3 separate regions of the Homo sapiens genome follow, and regions 1 and 3 are each linked to region 2. The links are contacts of gene promoters, found by promoter capture Hi-C in blood cells and fetal thymus (Javierre and others, 2016). All regions are on one chromosome and are shown on one strand. Each heading gives the region's core, a stretch centred on a gene start or on the middle of the fragment in contact. The rest is flanking DNA. Distances are from core to core; before and after follow the strand shown.

The links. The method cuts DNA at HindIII sites, captures the fragments that hold promoters and counts their contacts. A CHiCAGO score of 5 or more calls a contact.
Region 1: a fragment that was not itself captured here is called in contact with the fragment with the promoter of STYX in region 2 in 1 of 17 cell types (total CD8 T cells); the score reaches 5.8 in total CD8 T cells.
Region 3: a contact is called between a fragment that was not itself captured here and the fragment with the promoter of STYX in region 2, in 1 of 17 cell types (total B cells). The highest score is 9.8, in total B cells.

What each region holds. Positions count from the first base shown.
Region 1 is chr14:52,273,891-52,277,378 of GRCh38, reverse strand. It overlaps PTGDR (prostaglandin D2 receptor), which reads right to left. Exons shown (of 2, transcript NM_000953.3): 2 at 655-2,648. The coding sequence ends at 2,415. Among named protein-coding and RNA genes, the nearest start is that of PTGDR, 7.9 kb to the right of the region's middle. The HindIII fragment of the contact is 2,652 bases long and covers 505-3,156 here.
Region 2 is chr14:52,728,763-52,732,073 of GRCh38, reverse strand. STYX (serine/threonine/tyrosine interacting protein) reads right to left here and starts at 1,908. Exons shown (of 11, transcript NM_145251.4): 1 at 1,543-1,908. The coding sequence starts at 1,599. RefSeq lists silencers at 1,614-1,693, 1,764-2,223. The HindIII fragment of the contact is 7,384 bases long and covers 1-3,311 here.
Region 3 is chr14:52,291,217-52,294,537 of GRCh38, reverse strand. No RefSeq gene overlaps it. Among named protein-coding and RNA genes, the nearest start is that of PTGER2, 21 kb to the left of the region's middle. The HindIII fragment of the contact is 220 bases long and covers 1,910-2,129 here.

The DNA of each region.
Region 1 (3,488 bases), core at 581-3,080, 450 kb after region 2:
TTCTCTGTGTTCTTTTCAGTTTTCAGAGTCAAAATTCCTACTCGTTTTCAATACTTGACTTTCAATGCATCTTCTTCCTGTGAAGTTCTCCTGACAACCCTACACGTGGTCCCTAGTTTGGGCCTCCTCTTCTAATAGTAAATGCGTACTCGCAATACTATGGAGAATTTCTATGCTGTATCCTAACTGTTGACATTCCTCTCTACCCCAGTGGACAACGAGCAACTCATGAACCATGATTGAGTCTTATTTTTATTCCTTTCCTCAGCCCCTAATCAACTGCTTGGCACAAGGTCTCTGTAAATTATTTAATGAATTAATGAATAAATCTATACAGATTACCGAAGAGTTGGTTTTAACTCAACACAGACTTCATCCAGATGGTATATCTACATTTTGTATGAAACAAAAAGGAGCACTAGGTCCTTAGGTGAGTCTAAGGACTTACCTAAGCTTGTTTAAAGTAATGTAAAGTAATGAAATGTAAGTAAAGTAATGAAAGCTTGTTTAAAGTAATGTAAGTGTTAATCGGACAGTATATAAAAATCCACACTAGGAAACTGCCAGACAATGAAATATTGCTGGCAACTGTCTACTAAAAAGAAAGCCAAGCCCTTTTCTTTCATTTAAAGAAAAGTAATTTCCTCTGCAAAATACTATAAAATTATATTTATTGATTCATCTGGGGCCTTTTCAAATTAACTGGACAATTATCCTAACACACCTCTCCAAAAAAAGAATACAAAAAACATGTTCTTCCTCTGACAATAAAACATGCATGTACTTACACATTGAAGGTACAAACAAAAGTTAAATTTCAAAAACAACTGTATTTTTTTCATCATGTCATACTGTTAAATCATACTCCTTGTATGCCTAATTTGGCTTTTTCACAGTTTTGCTATACCAAAAAATTACATAAAAAATTACCCAGCTTTATATTATCTCAGATACTGGAAAAAACATAAGTGAAACAAAGGAGGTTGCTGCTCAGTTGGAAATAAATAAACATGAGTACTCTTATATTTGGAAGGGACTTCTGGCTGGAGGTCTTGAGATCACGCAAATGCAGCAGGCTTTGCACCTTGGAGTCCTGAGATTGTCAGATACAAAGGAACTCCAGAGATGCTGAAACCCCTTGAACCTCCCCAGCTGTTCTTTTACCAAAGGTGAAAGCTCTTACCTGCAAGCTGGGTTTAGAGTCTCCGCTTCAGTTGCAGCTGCGTTTCCTCCACTTTTCCCTTTCAGTCATCATATTGCTGACCCTTGAAAACTTTTAAATTACTATTAAAGTGCTCAGTTGTGCTCCTTTTCGGCTATATGCTGCTCCAGTTTTGAAGGTGTAATTTGAAGTAAAATCTTGGAACCTAAGATCTTACCGTCTCCACGGACAGCAGAATACGGCTGTAATAGGTAGCTGTTAAGGTAGATGTTAAGGCCATTGTTACTATCGTCAACTGAGGCTAAGTCCTGGGTGGGCTTTTTGCTGTGCCAAATGCCCCCCTGTGCCACACAGTCAAACAGTAAACATGGCTCTACAGTGAGTCACACACTGGTTTTCAAAGAAGCATAAATCCTTCCACTAAAGAATCCATTGATAGGATAATTCTTTTATAAAATGGAGGTTCTAAAAACTGAAAGAACATTTTGCAACCCACCCCCAACTTTTGATTCCTACTGACACCCTTGACTCAATACAAAAGAAACTGGATTTCAAAAGATAAAAACGAATTTTTGCTTCTTTGGGTTGTGGGCTATAGTCATATCTTGCTCTGCATCTAGTTACAGCTTCAGGTCTCCACCTGAGGCAGCAAGTACTCCCCGATGGTGGCTGGGGAAGCCCCTCCAACTGCCTGACCTGGTCATATTTCCCACCTCACTTCTCTGAGGAACATCATAATTCAGGCTATGCTTAGATCAATTGGCAAAGAAATGAACTAAACATCGGCAATGATATAAAATCAATGAATCAGGTTTCACCAAAAAATGAATAGGGTAAGAAATTATGCTTTTTATGAATGTCCATCGTATAATCGTAAACAGTGGTGTTTCTACTGTATTTTAAAAGACCTGTATGTCTCAAGGCCTCTCTAAAAAAAAAAAATAGGGCCACCAAGCACAAATGTAGGGACAATTAATACCATTGTTTTTTAAGACTTTTAACACTGGTTACAATATATAAAATTTTAGTTGCTGTTAATAAAAAAATGAAAATGCACTGAAGGGGTTCATGACTATAGAATGGTAACACATTGTTAAGATATCAAATACTTTTGAAAATACATATACATGCTTTTGTTATGGGAGGTAACTTTTAAGGATTTAAATTGTAAGTTGTCTTTTTTTTTTTAATCATGGTTCTTTGACTGAAAATGTGACATATTCCTCAGCTTACCACAGAGTGAAAAACACTGTCACAGACTGGATTCCATGTTAGTGGAATTGCTGCACCGGCTCCTGTACCTAAGAGGTCTAATGAAAATCTTGTGAAAAAATATCCGAAATACTGGAGATCTGAAAATGATAAAAATCCAAGGGTCCACAATTGAAATCACAGATAGAAATCGCAAGGCTCGGAGGTCTTCTGCTTCTTCAGAGGTCCTGTTTTTCTCCTTGACATCCTTAAATGCTCCATAGTAAGCGCGATACTGTTTTGAAGAAAAACATTCCATTATGATGTGGAAAGGTTAATGGCAGCAATGGATTCACTTACTTCACCTAAGTTACTGTAAGAACATGACAGCTTAGCTTGGAACACCCATTTTTGGTACATTTACAAGTAGCTAAGGCCACAGCAGCTGATGGGTGCAAGTGGGGAGCTGGGAAGGTGGGGTGTGGCCAGACCTGGGAGGTGGGAAGGAAGCTGAGTACTTGTCGGAGACCCAGTCTGATTAAGTCCCTGAAGGCTATTCTACCTGCTGGGCTCAAGTTTCTAGGTCCCTGCCAGGCCATGAAGATCTGCTGAATCTTTTAGAAACAGGGTCAGCATGCTTTCATAAATACAGAATCTCTTTCTAGCTAGTGTCCTTGCACTTACTTTCTTCAGTTCTCCTTTCTTTCTTCTCCCTGCTTCCTATCTTCTCCTATTAGTTCTCTCAGAAATAAGTCACACCTGTGAAATGTCATATGTATGGAGACACCAATAGAATGGAAGCTTTTAATCAATGTGAAGAGATTGGAAATATGACAATGAAAAGACCTGAGATGACTTGGAAAAAAATACTGTTCAACTCATGTAAATTGCTATACTTATTTTTAGCACAAATTGTTACTTTTTCATGGTTGACATCCTTTTTTTTTTTCTTGTTCAATCTAGAAGGCAAAAACATGCACAAAAATATAAGGCTGCCTTACCTAGGTCCAACCAACTCCTCTTGTCTTGATCTTCCCTGAGGTCTCTGTAGCCTCCTTGGAGCCCTGCAAAGTGCCTCAAACAACAGCTTTTCCTCCCATTCAGCCAACACTGATCTCTAGATCAGCACAACCAT
Region 2 (3,311 bases), core at 659-3,158:
GCCAGGTGCAGTGGCTCACACCTGTAATCCCAACACTTTCGGAGGACAAGGCGGGAGGATCTTGAGGCCAAGAGTTCGAGACCAGCCTGGAGAAAAAACCCATCGCTACAAAAAAAAAAAAAAAGAAAAATTAGCCCGGCATGGTCCCAGCTACTCCAGAGGCTGAGGTGAAAGGATGGCTTGAGCATGGGAGTTCGAGACTGCAGTGAACCGAGATCACACCACTGCACTACATTTTGCAACAGTGATAGTCACAAACAAAGTCTCTACTCTTAAAACAAATGTAATTGTCAAGCATCAATACCACAAGAGAGCCCTCCAAACAAAAATGTGAACCTAGGCCGGGCGCGGTGGCTCATACCTGCAATTTCAGCACTTTGGGAGGCCGAGTCGGGCGGATCACAAGGTCAGGAGATCGAGACCACCCTGGCCAAAATGGTGAAACCCGTCTCCCCTAAAAACACAAAAATTAGCTGGGCGTGGTGGTGCGCGCCTGTAGTTCCAGCTACTCAGGAGGCTGAGGCAGGAGAATCGCTTGAACCCGGAAGGCGGAGGTTGCAGTGAGCCGAGATCGCGCCACATTGCACTCCAGCCTGGCGACAGAGCAAGACTCCGTCTCAAAAAAAAAAAAAAAAAAAAAGTGAACCTCCAATGAAGATATTCAATAGAATAAATATTCGGAATAAATTGAATGGTCTCCTAAAAATAGGGCTTTATTTTTCCCAACTACTTTAAAGGTATTTTTAACTAGCGATGTTAGATTTTCTTTCTTAATCCTACTAAAGTATAGCTGAGTATCTTCGTCTTGTTAATTTAGCCTCCAGAAAATTCTAATTTAGTAGTCTGCAATGCCGTAAAATGTTAAACTAGCAACAGATGAAAAAAAATCCGAGTAGAAACAGCAGGCAGGGATCTAAGGTGGAGTAAAAATAGCCACAAATTAGAAACCAGGAGAAAAGGTATATAGTATTTTACTTTCAATATTAATTTTCCTCCAAAGGTCAAGATTTCTGATTAAGAGTTCTCAGATTAAGATGAGCTAGCTTTGAGACACTTTGTTGTGCGGGTCATAGCTTTGTCTAAAAACAAACAAAAAACTTTGGGAAACTTTTCGAAGGCGCGCTTCCAAACTTCAGGCGCCGAGTCTATTTCACATGTGGGGCCATGTGTCCCACAAGTGAATCGTTTACACCACAGATATTCCTCAAAAGGAGACTAAACCAACTTCGCTCTCTTGTTACTTTGACAATAAAAGAGGAACCTTACTCCAGGTCAGTCCTGGATGCCAAGCCTAGGGACTAAGGGATTGCTTTTCCTCTTCTCAAATGTAAGTACACCAGACGCTGCCCCTCCGCGGGGTCTGGAGAGGACGAGCAACTCAGTGGGGATTGGAGCCGACCGCTCGGCTTCAGAGGTCCCGGGACGCCCTTAGGAGGCAGGGCGCCCGTACAGGTGGCGGCTAAGACGGTTGGGGACTGGGGTCGCCCCTCGGCCGGAGCCACAGGGAGAGGCCTGTGCGTGGCAGCCACGGGAGCGACTCACCTCGGCGTCTTCCTTGCACTGTGGAAGGGAAGGGAACTCCAGCTTCACGTCCTCCATGGTGCTGGCCCGCGGGCTGGTGGGTGGGGTGGGAGAGTGTTACACAGCCGGCCGACCCTCGGGCTGGCTGCGGCGGCGGAAGGAAGGAGGGCCGGCGGAGCGGAGGGCTGACAGGAGGGCGGCGGGATTACAACTAACACACGCAGACTACAGGGTCCCAGTGACTCCAGCAGCGGCGGCGGCGAAGACAGGGAAGAGGAGGGTCGGGCGTCTTACACCCGGCCGCCATGCCGCTGCCGTCTCCCTCCCCCAGAGTCTCCGTACCCCTCAGGCCGCCCAGGATCCAGCACAGGAACCAGCCCGACAACCGTCTCCCCGCCTCCTTCCCGCCCCCTCCACCCGCGTCGCCTCAGCCAATCCCAGCCCACGCTCGCCTTCTGCCCGCCCTCCGCCGCCGCCAGGTGTCAGCGCGCCACCGCCCTGCTCCGCCCCTTCGCTAGAGCGCAGACGCTTGGGGGTGGGGGGGGCGGAGCCTCGGATGCTGCTAGGCCACAGCTCACCCGGCGTGGAGGAGGCGGGGCTGCGGTGGGACAGGACGAGTGAAGGTCCTGGGAAAGGCAGTGGGGCGGTCCGAGCCAGCTCCGCCCTTTCCAGACAGGACGTAGAGCCCTTCTTTAACATAAGAACAAACAGGCAAAACAGGCTACCCACCAGTGGCATCCGAAAGGAAAGCTATAGTTTCTCCCCTCTCAAAATTCTGCGCAATCTATGCTGAGTTTATAACCAAATGACTAATAAATGAAGAGTTCAATTTAAAATCACGTGGTGCCATACAGAAAATAAAATACCCATCACCTTTAAGCAAAGAATTAAACGGCTCAATTTAAAATTTTTTAAAGTATTTTAAGAGTACTTGAAAATACAACTCAGTTTAGATTACCTAGAAAATATCAAGAATGGCAACTAGAAAAAAATCAGAAAAAGGAACTGATAGCTGACTCAGTAAATTGTATATAATACTGTAAAATTTCTTCCATTATTATATTTTGAAATAAAAATAATAAACCAGATGGCTTTCAATATCTTTTAAAAGGAGTTTGCCAGCCTGAGCAAAATAGTAAGACCCCCCTCTCTAAAAAACAATTTTAAAATTCCCTGGGTGTGGTGGCGTTATGCCTGTAAACCCATGGTGAAAAGATTTGGGCCGGGCGCGGAGGCTCACGCCTGTAATCCCAGCACTTTGGGCGGCTGAGGCGTGTGGATCACCTGAGGTCGGGAGTTTGAGACCAGCCTGACCAACATGGAGAAACCCCGTCTCTACTAAAAATACAAAAATTAGCTGGGTGTGGTGGCGCATGCCAGTAATCGCAGCTACTTAGAAGGCTGAGGCAGGAGAACCGCTTAAATCCGGGAGGCGGAGGTTGCAATGAGCTGAGATAGTGCAATGGCACTACAGCCTGGGCAACAAGAGCGAAACTCCATCTCAAAAAAAATCAAAAATAAAAAAAGAAAGAAAGGATTTGTACACCAAATTGATTCTTTAAAAAACCACCGCCAGCACAAAGGTAAAAGGCAAGATAGTCACTCCTTAACTAAATGCAAATTATAAGTGAAAAGATCACATAGATATTTGACTTAAACCTCCCCCTACATTCTACTTTTTGTCACATAAAATGCACTGCCAACACATAGAAATAGAACTGTACAATAATTTGAGTATGAGATGGCTAACTTGACCACTCCATTTTCTATTTTAACTGTTCATCTTCTAA
Region 3 (3,321 bases), core at 770-3,269, 440 kb after region 2:
CTGGAGGAAGGCACCATCATTTTAGGCATCAGAGAATCTCCAGAATACATGTTCTCATAATACCCAAGCTCACCAGAAGATAAGGTAACATCAGTCAGAATCAGCAGGAATAGACCTACAGTGACTTCAGGTATCCTTCATTATCTACATTTTCATTTTGAACTCCAGGAACCAAATAGATTTGGATGCATTAGGATTTCCACACTAGGCAAAATTTTGCCATGTAGTGTCACAAAGTCAAGAACCTAATAGATTCAGATAATGAAACTCTTGAAATTCAATAAGCAAAAGACAGATAACTGAATAGAAAAGTGGAGAAAAGACCTGGACAGATCCTTCACAGACAGGGATATGCAAAGGACAATAAACATAGGAAAAGGTGTGGATCAGGGATATGCACATTAAAGCCACAATGTGATACCACTCGATACCCCCAGAACGGCTAAACCGAACTAGAAAGACAATAGGAAGTATTGATGAGCATGTGGATCAACTCGGCCTTTATACATTGCTGTGGAAGTATGAACTGACACAATCCACTTTGGAAGACCCCTTGGCAGTATTTACTAAGGGCAAAACTTATGACCTAGCAATTACATTCAGTTATATCCTTAATAGAAATGCATATGTATGTTCCCAAAAGATGTGTGAAAGGATGCTTATTACTTTTTTTTTTTTTCTTTGAGACAGAGTTTCGCTCTTGTTGCCCAGGCTGGAGTTCAGTAGCGTGATCTTAGCTCACTGCAACCTCCGCTTCCCGAGTTCAAGCGATTCTCTTGCCTCAGCCTCCTGAGTAGCTGGGATTACAGGTGCCTGCCACCACACCTGGCTAACTTTATTTTTTTGTATTTTTAGTAGAGACGGGTTTTCACCATGTTGGCCAGGCTGTTCTCAAACTCCTGACCTCAGGTGATCCACCCACCTTGGCCTCCCAAAATGCTGGGATTACAGGCATGGGCCAGTGCGCCCGGCTGCTTATTACTATTTGTAATAGGTTCAATTAGAAATAACTCAAATGTCCATCTGCAATAGATAGATTAATATATTGTGGTAAATTCATACGGTGGAATTCGTACAGTAGAACACTACAGCAAAGAGAATAAACAAAATATAACTCTGAACAACACGGACGGATTTCACAAGCATACTGCTGAGTGAAAGAAAACAAGTACATACTGATTCCATTTATATAAAGTTCAAAAGTGGACAAAATTCATGTATTAGAACTCAAGGTGGTTTCCTCTTGTGGGTGAAGTCAGTAGCTAAAAAAGGGATTTTGGAGGGGTTTGGGATTCTGTGTTTTTTGTTTTTTTTTTTTTTAATCTGGATATTAGTAACTTAGGTGTATTGCTTTGTGAAAATTCATTTCACTGTCTACTTATAATTCGTATATTTCTCTGTATGCATGTTATACTTCAGTAAAATTTTGAAACTTTTATAAAGAGACATTGAAAAGGACATAAATAAATTGAAAAGTATACAAAATTAATCAATAGATTCAGTGCAATTCCAGTGAAAATCCCAGCAGGTTTTGGTGGAACTAAAGCACTAAGATTAAAAGGGCCCCCTTCAAAGAGAGCTAGGTGGAAGCATTAATGTACCTAAGACAACAGGCCAATGGAATAGAAACAAACATACAAATATGGAAACTTCATATGTGACAGATATGATATTTAAGATCAATGGGGAAAAGATAAACTTTTTGATAAATGATACTTGGACAAGTGGTTATTTATATGGTGAAAGTACAAAACTGGATATTTATATCACACCATACACCAAATAAATCATAGGTGGGTTCAAATTCAAGAGTGAAAGGCAAAACTATAAAGCTTTTATAAAGTAGTATAGAAAAATATTTCATGATTTTAGGTTTAGAAAACATTTCTCAAATAAAACATGAAAAGCTTAGCCATAAAAGAAAAGTTTAAGAAATTAGATTCTAATAAAATAAAAATTTCTATTAATTAAAAGTCATCAAAAAGAGAGTGAAAAGACAGATTAAAGAATGGGAAAAGATTTTTCCAACACATAAAACTGACAAAGTAACAGTAGTTAGGACATCTATAAATCAATATGAAAAACAAACATTATATTTTTTAAAAAGGCAAAAGACTTGAACAGAAGCTTTATAAACTAGAATTTCCAAACAGCCAATAAATGTATGAGAAGGTGTGCAATATCATCATTATTAATATGAAAAATACATTAAAACCTCAATGAAATACCATTACAAACTTACCAAAATGGCTAAAACTAAAAATCTAACAATACAAGTGTTAGCAAAGATGTAGAGCAATGAAAACAATGCTGGTGTTAGTGTAAATTGGAAAACAATTTTTATGATATAATAAAAGGTGCACATATCCTATAACCCTGCAATCCCACTCCTAGATGTATGCCTTAGAGATACTCGTACACATGTCCAACACAAGACATAATAAGAACAGTTAAAACAGCATTGTTTATTTTTCTTTTCTTTTTTTGCCCCTTGAATCATAAAACAGCATTATTTCTAGTAGGCAAATCTAGAAATACCCCAAATGTCCATTGACAGCATGCGATATATTCATACCATGGAATACTATTTGGCCATGAAAATATAGGAACTCAGCTACACGTACAAAAAGTATGAATCTCACAAACATACTATATGGTGAATATCATCCAGATCTCCTTTTCCAAGCCATTGCCCCCAGCCCCTGTGGGTTATGGTTTCTAATGGCTCAGAGCTGGCCCCTTTTCTGGAAAATTGCCCTTGGCTCAAAGGGTACCACCGGGAACACGTGGGCCAAAAACTTAGTAACAGGCTTTCACAAGTGTCTTGGTGGGACCAACAGTGTGGTGCTATTCAAGCTCCAGAGCCCCCCCTTGAGATCAGGCAGAGCTGAGACCTCATCCTTGCCTTGATTCCGTCCCTGCCCTGTCCTGCTGCTTTCACCGCTTTTCTCCCGAAAGCAGGAGCTCCACAGGTCACATGCACCTGACTCTTTGTCCTAGACTGCATGTGAGGAATCCAAGCTAAGACACATTACTAAGCTTGAGAAAAAGACACTGAATACATATATTATGATGCACACATGGGGTAAGATAAAGAAAAGCAAAAGCATGATTTCTTAAAAGTCGGAACAGGGTTTATCTCGGTGAGGGGGAGGGACTGTGATCAGGGAAGGCACACAGGAGGCTTCTGGTACTGGCAGTATTCCGTTTCTTGACCTGCACAATGTCTACATGGATATTTACTTTATAATTACTATTTAACTGCATATGCATGTTGTACACACAATTTAGTATGTATAATGCATACAAAAAGAAGAAAAA